4 separate regions of the Homo sapiens genome follow, and regions 2, 3 and 4 are each linked to region 1. Evidence: promoter capture Hi-C in 16 types of primary human blood cells and fetal thymus (Javierre and others, 2016). All regions are on one chromosome and are shown on one strand. The core of a region is centred on a gene start or on the middle of the fragment in contact, and the rest is flanking DNA. Distances in the headings are between cores, read along the strand shown.

What was found. Contacts are between HindIII fragments. The CHiCAGO score rates a contact against its expected background, and 5 or more counts as called.
Region 2: a contact is called between the fragment with the promoter of LINC01431 here and the fragment with the promoter of MKKS in region 1, in 4 of 17 cell types (total B cells, naive CD8 T cells, non-activated CD4 T cells and 1 more). The highest score is 8.1, in total B cells.
Region 3: a contact is called between a fragment that was not itself captured here and the fragment with the promoter of MKKS in region 1, in 1 of 17 cell types (total CD4 T cells). The highest score is 6.8, in total CD4 T cells.
Region 4: a contact is called between a fragment that was not itself captured here and the fragment with the promoter of MKKS in region 1, in 1 of 17 cell types (total B cells). The highest score is 9.5, in total B cells.

What each region holds. Positions count from the first base shown.
Region 1 is chr20:10,432,923-10,435,571 of GRCh38, reverse strand. It overlaps MKKS (MKKS centrosomal shuttling protein), which reads left to right and starts at 1,350. Exons shown (of 6, transcript NM_170784.3): 1 at 1,350-1,464. SLX4IP (SLX4 interacting protein) reads right to left here and starts at 267. Exons shown (of 8, transcript NM_001009608.3): 1 at 119-267. It overlaps LOC128706665, which reads left to right and starts at 1,350. Exons shown (of 3, transcript NM_001394148.2): 1 at 1,350-1,464. LOC128706666 reads left to right here and starts at 1,350. Exons shown (of 3, transcript NM_001394149.2): 1 at 1,350-1,464. RefSeq lists enhancers at 114-163, 324-553, 1,444-1,503. The HindIII fragment of the contact is 4,604 bases long and covers 252-2,649 here.
Region 2 is chr20:23,356,773-23,359,421 of GRCh38, reverse strand. LINC01431 (long intergenic non-protein coding RNA 1431) reads left to right here and starts at 1,295. Exons shown (of 3, transcript NR_109884.1): 1 at 1,295-1,467; 2 at 2,285-2,371; 3 at 2,453-2,649. RefSeq lists a silencer at 960-1,149 and enhancers at 1,200-1,589, 1,780-1,869. The HindIII fragment of the contact is 4,137 bases long and covers 1-2,311 here.
Region 3 is chr20:21,305,781-21,308,429 of GRCh38, reverse strand. The region is part of intron 1 of XRN2 (5'-3' exoribonuclease 2); the gene reads right to left. Among named protein-coding and RNA genes, the nearest start is that of XRN2, 3.8 kb to the right of the region's middle. The HindIII fragment of the contact is 4,700 bases long and covers 1-2,649 here.
Region 4 is chr20:21,124,070-21,126,718 of GRCh38, reverse strand. It overlaps KIZ (kizuna centrosomal protein), which reads right to left and starts at 637. Exons shown (of 13, transcript NM_018474.6): 1 at 515-637. The coding sequence starts at 603. RefSeq lists enhancers at 119-168, 1,069-1,168 and a silencer at 329-908. The HindIII fragment of the contact is 481 bases long and covers 1,061-1,541 here.

The sequences.
Region 1 (2,649 bases), core at 101-2,600:
GAGAAGGATTCGGAAAAGTCTCAAAAAATCAAAGCCAAAAACCAGGAGGGAGGAGATGGGCAAACAGTTCAGTTCACTTGAAGGAACATCTGAGGTTGTCAGAGGTCCATGTGCTTACCTATGATGGTGGCGGGGTTTGGGCTCGGGCTTTATATGTTTTGTTACTGTCCAGGGTCACTGGCGGAGTAGTACCTGGCTGTGGAAACTCGGACTACACAGGTAGCCGGAACTGCAGCCAACCTTCAGAAGCTTAAGGGAAGCACTTTCGCGCTTACTTCCTCCTTCCCAGGGTCTCCGCGCGCGTTTGGGAACTCAGCCGCCGCCCAAACACAAAATGATCTGGGCAGCTTCGCTGCAGGATTGAGGCCACAGCCAGGATTTAAGATGGCAGCGAAACACTTCGATGGCCCGTGGAATCTGCCCAAAAGAAAAATGGCCTCTGTTCAGAATATCGCGGCTTTCAAAGTGGGCCCAAAACAAAAATGGCGCCGGACGCAGGCTATTTTTAAAGGCTGGGACCCCAATGACTCTCATTAGCAAATAACGTATCATGGTAACTCACGGTGCTAGGCAGTTGAACTGACCGAGAGAAAAAAAAACGCTTTTCTGTGGTGTGTTTTCTTAACATTGGAAAATGACTAGCTCAAGAATGGAACATATATTCGGTGCGAAAGATTGTGAGAAAGGAAAGGTAGCTTTCACAGTGCCGGATAAATTTTAATAAAAATAGCCATGTTTGAACATAACTTCCTATATGTTTTTTAATGTTAAAAGAGAATAAAAGTTTTGTCCTGGAACCCAGAAGCAGGATGGGGAAATGCCGGGTGAATTATCTAATCTGTGAAGAGTACGAGCTGCGAAACTCCGCACTTCCCTGTAAGCCCTCAGGAAGGACTGAGGGCGGATGCTTTAGTAGAAGGCAACTAGCTCTCACGGCGCATGTCCGTTTTCCAAACCCGATCCCGGGAGTTACGGGAGAGTAAAAATCCTGATTTTCCAGACAACCGCACAGAGAGGCGGGATACTGGCGCTGAGCGACAAATCCAAGCGCTTTGTAATTGGTCATGTCAGGACAGAGAGCAGAGCGCAGTGGACTATTTCTTTCTTTCATTCAATAAATCATTGTCAAGCGCTCACCAAAAGGCAGAAGCTGTGCCATTTTGATATGTTATTTAAATTTTATGCGTTCTTTTAAAATTTCAGTTTCAACAATTTGCTGGAATATACGCTGAATAAACTTCGCTCCCCGTTTTTTCCGGTGACGGCCGCTGTTGGCTGGAGCTTCACGGAAAACCCGGAGAAGCGGAGTGGGGGCGGCCCGGCGTCGACCGCAGAGCTGCGCGTGCTCCGTGCCCTCGCGCGACGCGAAGGTTGTCGGGATCCGCGGCAGCAGCGGCTGCTTGAGATCTGTTTCTGGGGCCTCTGGCGGTGGCGGCCTGGGGCGGCGCGACGGCTGGTGCGCAGGTGAGAGCGCTGGGACTCTAGGTGGAAAAGCCCGCTTTGTGTCCGGCCGAAGAGAGGGGAAGGGGCTTGTAGGCGCCTCCCTCTCCACCCCCAAAGGTCACCGGTGTCCTCACTGAAGGATATTTGAGGGCGGGGACAAGGAGGAGGCTGGCTCTCTGTAGGAGGCGAAAGACCGACCTCTGAAATAGCTGCCGATGGTAAATGTTGCGGTCGGCACGGATGCGGGCGGCGAGGAGGTCTTCCCGCCGGTGGGGAGAGCTGGAGGAGTGGCGCCTCACCACGCTCCCACCTGCGCTGCCGCCTTCTACGCCGAACCTGTGACTCCCCGTCCCCTCCCTCGCTGGGAGGGGCCCCGTGTGCCCCTGACTGTCTGGAGGGTGCACGGTGTACCCCAGGCTGTCGGGAGGTGGGGGCCGCCCTCCGACGGCGTTAGAGACGTTGTGCAGCGTGGCCCTGCCAGCTACGTGAAAGCAGCCGCGGGGCTTGCAGGGCTGTGGACCTTGTAGGGATGACCCTCTAAGGTCATGCTCGTCTTCCTCCCCGATAAGACCATACCCAAATCCTGTTGCCGTTTCAGAGACTCAATATGACGGTTTCATTCATTCATTAACATCTTCAGTTTATCCATAAACAGATATACACGTGTCTACAGCACTGCCGAGTTAGTAGATACGGCAGTGACCAAGAGGGACTTGCACGGTCCTGACTCCATGTTCTAGTGATGGGGGAGAAACAATACGCTCCCTATCCATGAGTTCCGCATGTGTGAATTCAACCAACTGCGGATAGAAAATATTTTGGGGCGGCGGGGTTTGGTGGCTCACCCCTGTAACCCCGCACTTTAGGAGCCCGAGGCGGGCGGATCACTTGAGTCAGGAGTTTGGGGCCAGCCAGGCCAACGTGGCGAAACCCGGTCTCTGCTAAAAGTACAAAAAAATGAGCCGGGCGCAGTGGCGCACGCCTGTAATCCCAGCTACTTGGGAGGTTGAGGCAGGAGAATCGCTTGAGCCCTGGAGGCGGAGGTTGCGGTGAGCGGAGATCACGCCACTGCACTCCAGGTTGGGCGACAGAGACTCTATTTAAGAAAATAAATAAATAAAAACATTCTGGGGGAAAAAAGATGGTTACATCTGTACTGAACACGTGCAGACCTTTTTTCTTGTCATTCCCTAAACACTGCAGTGT
Region 2 (2,649 bases), core at 46-2,545, about 13 Mb before region 1:
GCTGACTGACACGCCCCCTGCCCCAGCCCCACCACTTCCACAAATAATTACTGCTTTGATTGGACCAGAGACTGACTGCAGTAACTTTTTCCTGATGGGAAACAACCGAACAGGGGCTGATTCTGGCGGTTTACAGAGGCTGCACACAAGTGCATCGGTGTCCTGAAAAGATCTTTCAACTTATAGGGTCTAAATGTAATACATGAATACCTGTAAATGCTAAGAGTCCACCCCAAAGTAAACATAGGTCACCTGTAACATGCACGTTTGTCCAGTAAGCATGGGTCAGGACCCGTTTCATGAATATTCATAGCTCTTCCTGTGGCCTGTTCATATGTGTACTTGGCTAAGTCCTTCAGCTTAAATTCCTGTCTTAGGCCCCCTTCCCTCCAGCTGCCTGCCTTTTGAGCTTCTGCCAGAAGCTATGCTTCCCAGCCTGTCAGAAGGGCCACCTTGCAGGTTATCACCGTTTAAAGAAATAAAGCTCTCCTTTCTATGTTTGTGATCTTTTTTTTAAATAATACAAATAGACAATTCACTTGACAGTGTGAATGGCATACTTCACTGACAATGGAATACTATAAAAACAATAATAAACCACTGATAAACATCAACCTGACAAAGTTAAATATAGTGTTTCATGCTGTAGAACTCTGCACGAGAAAAGTACACGGGAGTGAACAATTGTTACGTAAGGGCGTTCACTGCAGTGCACTTACATTAGTGAAACTTTGGAAACAATCTCACCTATAAGGAGATGGCCGAAGAATTTGATATATCCAAGCACTGGATTATTATGCCGGTCATTAAAACAATGTTTAAAAATATGTGTAATAGCTTGGGGAAATGCTCACCATGTTATAATGAGTAAAGACGGTACACTATTTTACATAGGGTCTGATGTGATTTGAAAACAAATCTATAGAAATAGACTGGAAAGAAATGTATCAAATTCTAAACTGCACAAGGAAGAACACTGACGCACGCGCAACGCCGGCGCCCTGCCCACTAGGCGCCCTCGCTGCCCCTCACCTGCACAGCCGGCGCACGCCCACAGGCTCGTGAGGGAGCGGCCGGTGGGTCAGGCTGGGCGGCACTCCTCGCCCATTGGCTGTCCCGGAGTCCGGCCCCGCCTCTCCCCGCCTTCTGGAGCCGCTGGTATAGCTCCTTCCAGGGCTCCTTGGAGACGGAGGGCGGGGCTAGGGCGCCGGAGTCACGTGGTCGCGCCACCGCGCGATTACTAGCTGTCAAAAGAGTCCTCAGAAGTGTCCTGAGCGGTCGCAGGGTAATGACGTCGGCCGTATCGGGGATGCTGGAACCTGCGGTTGAGTGAGAAACCGGCGCCACCGCCTGCGTCTTGGTCTCGGGCTGGTGGCCAGCGGGGTCTGGGCGTGGTTTTACCCAGCTCCTTTGCGAAGCTGCTGTCCTTTCCTCAACGTTACCACCCGGCTGGGCAGCCTACCCTCGGTCAGTACGTCCTGGCAAGAGCGCTTCGGGCGTGGCGTTCGTGTCGCGGGGGCCTCGGCTCAGAAGCGAGGGAAGAGCAGCCCTCAGAGGAGCGGCGACCGCGCTTACCGGGAGCCCGGGTTGGGAGAGGGCTCCCCAGGAGGGGTGTGAGCTCCGAACGAGAAAGAACGCCACCGCCTCGTGGGGTCTCTTCCTAATGTGCAGATTCCAAATCTCTACAATGCTGCAAAAGAGGTTACAGTCCACATCAAATTAAGCATGCCCTAAAGGGCAGCTGGGGTTCAGTTCAAGAGTTGAGTTTTAACACACACCTTTACCTGCCTTAAAATTGGGCAAGGTATCACAACGTTAAACCATTTCTCACAAGGCTCGTTGGTGATGTTTAAGATTTTTTGTTTGTTTGTTTGTTTTTTGTTACGGAGTCTCGCTCTGTCGCCCAGACTGGAATGCAGTGGCGCGATCTTGGCTGACTACAACCTCCGCCTCCTGGGTTCAAGCGATTGTCCTGCCTCAGCTTCCTGAGTAGCTGGGATTACAGGCGCCTGCCACCACGCCCAGCTAATTTTTCTATTTTTAGTAGAAACGGGGTTTCGCCTTGTTGGCCAGGCTGGTCTTAAGTTTTGCATCCTGGCTCCCTCCTCTTACCTAGTCCCAGCCTCTTGTCTACAGGACAAAGCAACTTTCTGCAGTTTTCTGTTTGCTCTTTAGAGAGACGGGGCCCTAATTTGGCAAAGTGGTAGGGGAGACAGGGCTGGTGTTTAAGGTCGACCAAAGCAACATCTAAATCTCTGCTCTTCCCCCAAATTGTCCAAATTAGCAGCAACAGGTGTGCACCTTCCAAGCTTGCAACAGACCACATTCAGAAGCTTGATTTCTTGTTGTTCTGGGAATATCTGGATCAGAGGTAACATGGTTCACTAGGACTCCTCAGCTTCACCCAGTGTCCATTTCACCTCCCCCGGCCTTCCAATGTCTCTTCTTGCAGATTTCTCCAAGCCACTCTCCCCGTCATCTCCTCCACCCCCAGGACCCAACTCCTGCCCCTCCCACCCTAGCCCCTGTTCTCCCTGCCCACCTCCTACCCCACTGGAGTGGCCTTTCATCAAACCTAAACCAAAGAAACCAACAGACCTTGCTGTCACCACTACTCCGGGACCTGGAAGTTAAAGCGAGGGAGAGACG
Region 3 (2,649 bases), core at 97-2,596, about 11 Mb before region 1:
GGCAGGTTTTTCTTTTTAAGTAATCACACACCTAATATACAATCCAACCATTTCACTCCTAATGTTTTTCCCCCAAACAAATGCAAGCATACGTCCCTACAATGACTTGTACAGAGATGTTCATAGGTTTCTTTTTCAGAAAGCCAAAAACTGGAAACAATCCCAATGTTCATCAATCATCTGAATAAATAAATAAAATGTGGTGTATCTACACACAGAATACTATCCAAAAATTAAAAGACGAGGCAGGCAGATACTTGAGGTCAGGAGTTCAAGACCAGCCTGGCCAACATGGTGAAACTCCATCTCTACTAAAAATACAAAAATTAGCCGGGTGTGGTGGCATGTGCCTGTAATCCCAGCTGCTTGGGAGGCTGAGGCAGGAGAATTGCTTGAACCCAGAAGGTGGAGGTTGCAGTGAGCCGAGATCGCACCACTGCACTCCAGCCTGGGCGACAGAGCGAGACTCCATCTCAAAAAAAAATAAAAACAAAAAAGAAATAAACTACTGACACATACAACAACGGAAGAATTTCAAAATAAGTATACTGAATGAAAGTAACTGAGGCAAAAAATGAGTATATACTATATAATCTCATTTATAAAAAATTATAGAAAATGAAAACTTATCATACGGTCAGAAAGCAAACCAGTCAGTGGTTGGCAAAAGACAGGTGGCAGGGAGGGATAGTAGAAAGGAACTACAAAAGGGCAGAAGGAATGTTTTAGAGGTCACGTTCACTGTCTTGGTTGTGCTGGTTTCACAGATGTATGCACTGTATTAAATTATATACTTTAAGCCCAGGACTTTGAGGCTGCAGTGAGCCATGATTGCACACTACATTCCAGCCTGGTGACAGAGCAAGACCTCAACTCGAAAAAAGTTAAAAGAAAATTGTACACTTTAATTACCTGCAGTTTATTCTATGTCAAGTATACCTCAACAAAGCTGCAAAAACACCAAAGGTTGGGGGAGGTTTCAAGGAAAGCCAGAGAATGAGAGAGAAAATAAAAATAAAAATACATGAGTCTAAGAGGACCAGTATCCTGAGTCTGGAAAGGGAAGAAAAAAAGGTCAAGAAATCATCAAACAGCATTCCCTAAAACCGAAGAACGTAAGACTCCAGACTCAAAGAGTGAGCCACGTACTGATCAAAATGAATCTGAATTTAAAATAACATCTATACCTGGGTACCTAATAATGAAAGTTTACACTATCAAGAAAAAGATCTTTTTAAAATCTAGGAAGGAAAACTGATCACAAAAGAATGAAAGCATATGAGCATAAAAATTAAGTCCTTCTGGTTTCCACACTAGCTCTGACATTTATCAGCTGAGTGACCTTGGGTATGATACGCGACCCTGCTGTGTTTCCATTTTCTCATCTGAAATAATAATAAACATAACAATAATCATTATTTTTCTGAGATGGAGTCTCGCTCTGTCACCAGGCTGGAGTGCAGTGGCGGGATCTCGGCTCACTGCAATGTCTGTCTCCCGGGTGCAAGTGATTCTCCTGCCTCAGCCTCCCAAGTAGCTGGGACTACAGGCGCGCCACCATGCGCAGCTAATTTTTGTATTTTTAGTAGAGATGGGGTTTCACCATGTTAGCCAGGATGGTCTGGATCTCTTGACCTCGTGATCCACCCACCTCAGCCTCCCAAAGTGCTGGGATTACAGTCGTGAGCCACCGCACCCGGCCAATAAACATAGTAATTATTATAACATAATAACAATATTGGTTGTCTCCAAATAACGTGCTTCTATTATTTGTATGTAATAAAAATAATTACAACAGTAGAAGTCATGTGGTTGTGAGGATCAAACAAGTTATAATAAAGTTCTTAAAACAATGGTAAATGCTATATAACTGCTGGTTAAATAAATACATCACATTAACACCGAACTTGTCATCAACACTACTAGATGAGAGAGTACAAAAGAACAATTTCTTTCAAAGTTCTGAGGGAACCTAATATTAAAACTGGAATTCCTGGCCAGGTGCGGTGGCTCATGCCTGTAATCCCAGCACTTTGGGAGGCAGGGGCTGGTGGATCACCTGAGGTCAGGAGTTCAAGATCAGCTTGGCCAACATGGTGAAACTCCGTCTCTACTAAAACTACAAAAATTAGCCGGGCGTGGTGGCGCGCCTGTAGTCCCAGCTACTCGGGAGGCTGAGGCAGGAGAACGGCTTGAACCCGGGAAGTGGAGGCTGCAGTGAGCCGATATCACACCACTGCACTCCTGCCTGGGTGACAGAGCTAGACTCCGTCTCAAAGAAGAAGAAAAAAAAAACACCTCGAATTCCATGCCTAGCTAATGATCATTCACGTGTATAAGGGTAGAATGGAGCTATTTTGGGTCCTACAATGACTCGGAAATCTCACATCCCACACAGCATTTCTTAAGAATTAAGAATAAGGAGGCCAAGGCAGGCGGATCAGAAGGTCAGGAGATCGAGACCATCCTGGCTAACACGGTGAAACCCCGTCTCTACTAAAAGTACAAAAAAATTAGCCAGGCGTGGTGGCGGGCGCCTGTAGTCCCAGCTACTTAGGAGGCTGAGGCAGGAGAATGGCGTGAACCCCGAAGGCGGAGCTTGCAGTGAGCCGAGATTGATTGAGCCACTGCACTCCAGCCTGGGAGACA
Region 4 (2,649 bases), core at 52-2,551, about 11 Mb before region 1:
GCCAGCCCTCGCTACCCCTAAAAGTCTCCTGAGTTTAAACGGGGGCACATGTTTGACACACACACACACAACCGTCTGCGTTCCAGGACTTGTCATCATTGATGCAGTGCAGCTGTCACGGCGGGATGGCAATTTGAAGAGAGTGGGGAGGGGGCGTGTAAAAGGGGACAAGAGAAACTCACAAGGCTTGATGGAGAGTGACAGGCAGAAGAACTCCCACCTTCACTTCTGGGCAAATTCTGTGACGCGGCCGCATCCTCAAACCGTAGACCAGGCTTTAGCTGCTATTGACGGGGCGGGGGCGGTCTCTCACCTCTCTCCGCTCCCACCCCCAATACAGGGGGTGGCTCTAGTAAACACTGTCCTCCAGGCCCCACTGGGAGCCTGGGGGGCGTTGCGCGCGGGCCTGGGCCCCGGGGAACCTCGGACGGGGGAGCGGGAAGGAAAATGGGGCAGGGCACGCGGAAGACCCCCGGCGCGGGCCGACTCCCCACCCCCGCCCCAGTGCCCTTACCTGTCCCGCAGCCCGTGCTGGAGTTGGCCCAGCCTCTCGTAGTAGTCGGGACTCGACAGGGGCACGGCCGATGCGAGGGTCCGGCTCATGCTGCTGCCGCTGCGCCAGCTCAGCACAGCCTCTGGGTGGCCGTTCGGCCGGGGTTGCCGAAGGAGACCGCCCCACCATGCACCGCGGGTAAACACCGCGCCGGGCCGCCTGCAGGAGGCGGGGCAAGACGCCGTGGGGGCGGGGCGCCGCTGAGGGACGGGGCGGAAGCCGGCTTTGTGGGGGGCGGGACGAAGACCTGCATGGGGCGGGGAAGAGGCGTGGCAGAGGCGGGGCGTCGTGAGGCCGGGGCGGACCACGTCGGAGGGGCGGGCGCTCGGTGCCCTCTCCTCTCTCCCTTGACGCGGTGTCTCCTTTCCCCTCACCTTCCAGGATTCGCACAAGCTACGTTAATGTTACAAGGCGCATTCCCTCCCTTTCTTTCGTCTCTCGCTTGCTTCTTTTCCTCGATCTCCTTTCTTGCCAGGATTTGTTGAGTGCCAGGCACTGTACTAAGCTTGTTCTATTATATCAGCACTCAAAAGCGACACAAAACACCAAGTAAAAAAAGACAAACCCTCAAATGCTAAACAGCCGTGCTCAGCCCCGACAGTGGACCAACCCCTTACTCGAAAATCCGTGCTGAATCTAAGGATTGTTCCAGGTGCCAGTATCGTTGGCGAGAGGGAAAAGTTGATAACTAGTTGCTTGGGAAGCAGACGTTTGTGCAGACAGCTCTAAGGGACAATGCTCCTAATGTCCTGTAGGATCCTCTAGCAGGAGCCCGGGAGCCAGACTGCCTGGGTGTACATTCCCTATCCACGTCCCAGCTGCCAAGCCGTGTGCAAGTCACCCCAGGTTTCCTCATATGTAAAGTGGGAGGCTGTTAACACAGGATTAGTTTAGGATTCGATTGTTAATATGTGTTAGTGTTTATAAGTGGGCCCAGCACATAGAAAGCATCAGGTTTTATTATCATCACCAACGTCGGGAAAAAGCTTCCTGAAGGAAGCCAACCATATTTCAAAACCCACTGGGCAGAAAAATTAAGCCTTAGCCTGCTTCTCTGCCTTCCTTTCCTTTTTTTTTTTTTTTTTTTTGAGACAGAGTCTCACTCTGTTGCCCAGGCTGGAGTGCAGTGGCGTGATCTCGGCTCACTGCAAGCTCTGCCTCCCGGGTTCAAAAGATTCTCGTGCCTCAGCCTCCTGAATAACTGGGATTACAGGTGTGCGCTACCACACCCAGATAATTTTTGTTTTTTTTGGTATTTTTTATATTTTAAGGAGAGACGGGGTTTCACCATGTTGGCCAGGCTGGTCTTGAACTCCCAACCTCAGGTGATCCACCCACCTTGGCCTCCCAAAGTGTTAGGATTACTTGCATGAGCCACCATGCCCGGCCTGTAGAGTTTCTTTAGTCTCTTATTGTTCACTTCTTTTGGTTTCTTTCCTATGCCATTAATTTTACTTACACATACAAGGTGCAAGGTGTGACAAACTAAAATTGTAAGAGAGATGGAACACTCAAAGGCCAACAACACAAAACTATGATTTTACTCAGCCTTCCATTCACATTTGCCAGTTCCAGGGCAAGAGTGTGAATGGAGGCCCTCATACCATCCGCCTAAATATTGAATTATAATTCAAGATAACAAACTTAGGTAAAATACGTGTTCTCCTCTCCACTTTGACCAATATGCCTTCTTAAGAACCTGGACAACCAGGGTGGAATTTAGTTTGCCTGCTTCTCCAGCTCCCCCCAACTCCATTTCCCACCCCAGGCTCAGTCTTGCTTTGTGAGGGGGTCTCATACACTAGCAGGGATGTGTGTGCCCTGCCTCTTCTCCTCCTCTTCTCCAGCCAGCAAGTCCCAACTCTGCCTACATCCCCACCTCAGCCTCCTCTTGGCCGGGCAGTGAGCATGCCAGTGATGGTCACCCTTGCAGGAAAGACCCAGCCAAGAGGCCTTTTAAAGCCTTAGAAAGCAGCTTGGGCCCCTTTGAGCAGGGAAGGTAAGGGTGTTGGGTACTTAGAACGTGTTCTAGAAGAGCATGTGTGTGTATGTGTGTGAGCACCCCAGGTGGGCCTGTCATCTGGCCCTGGGACCTC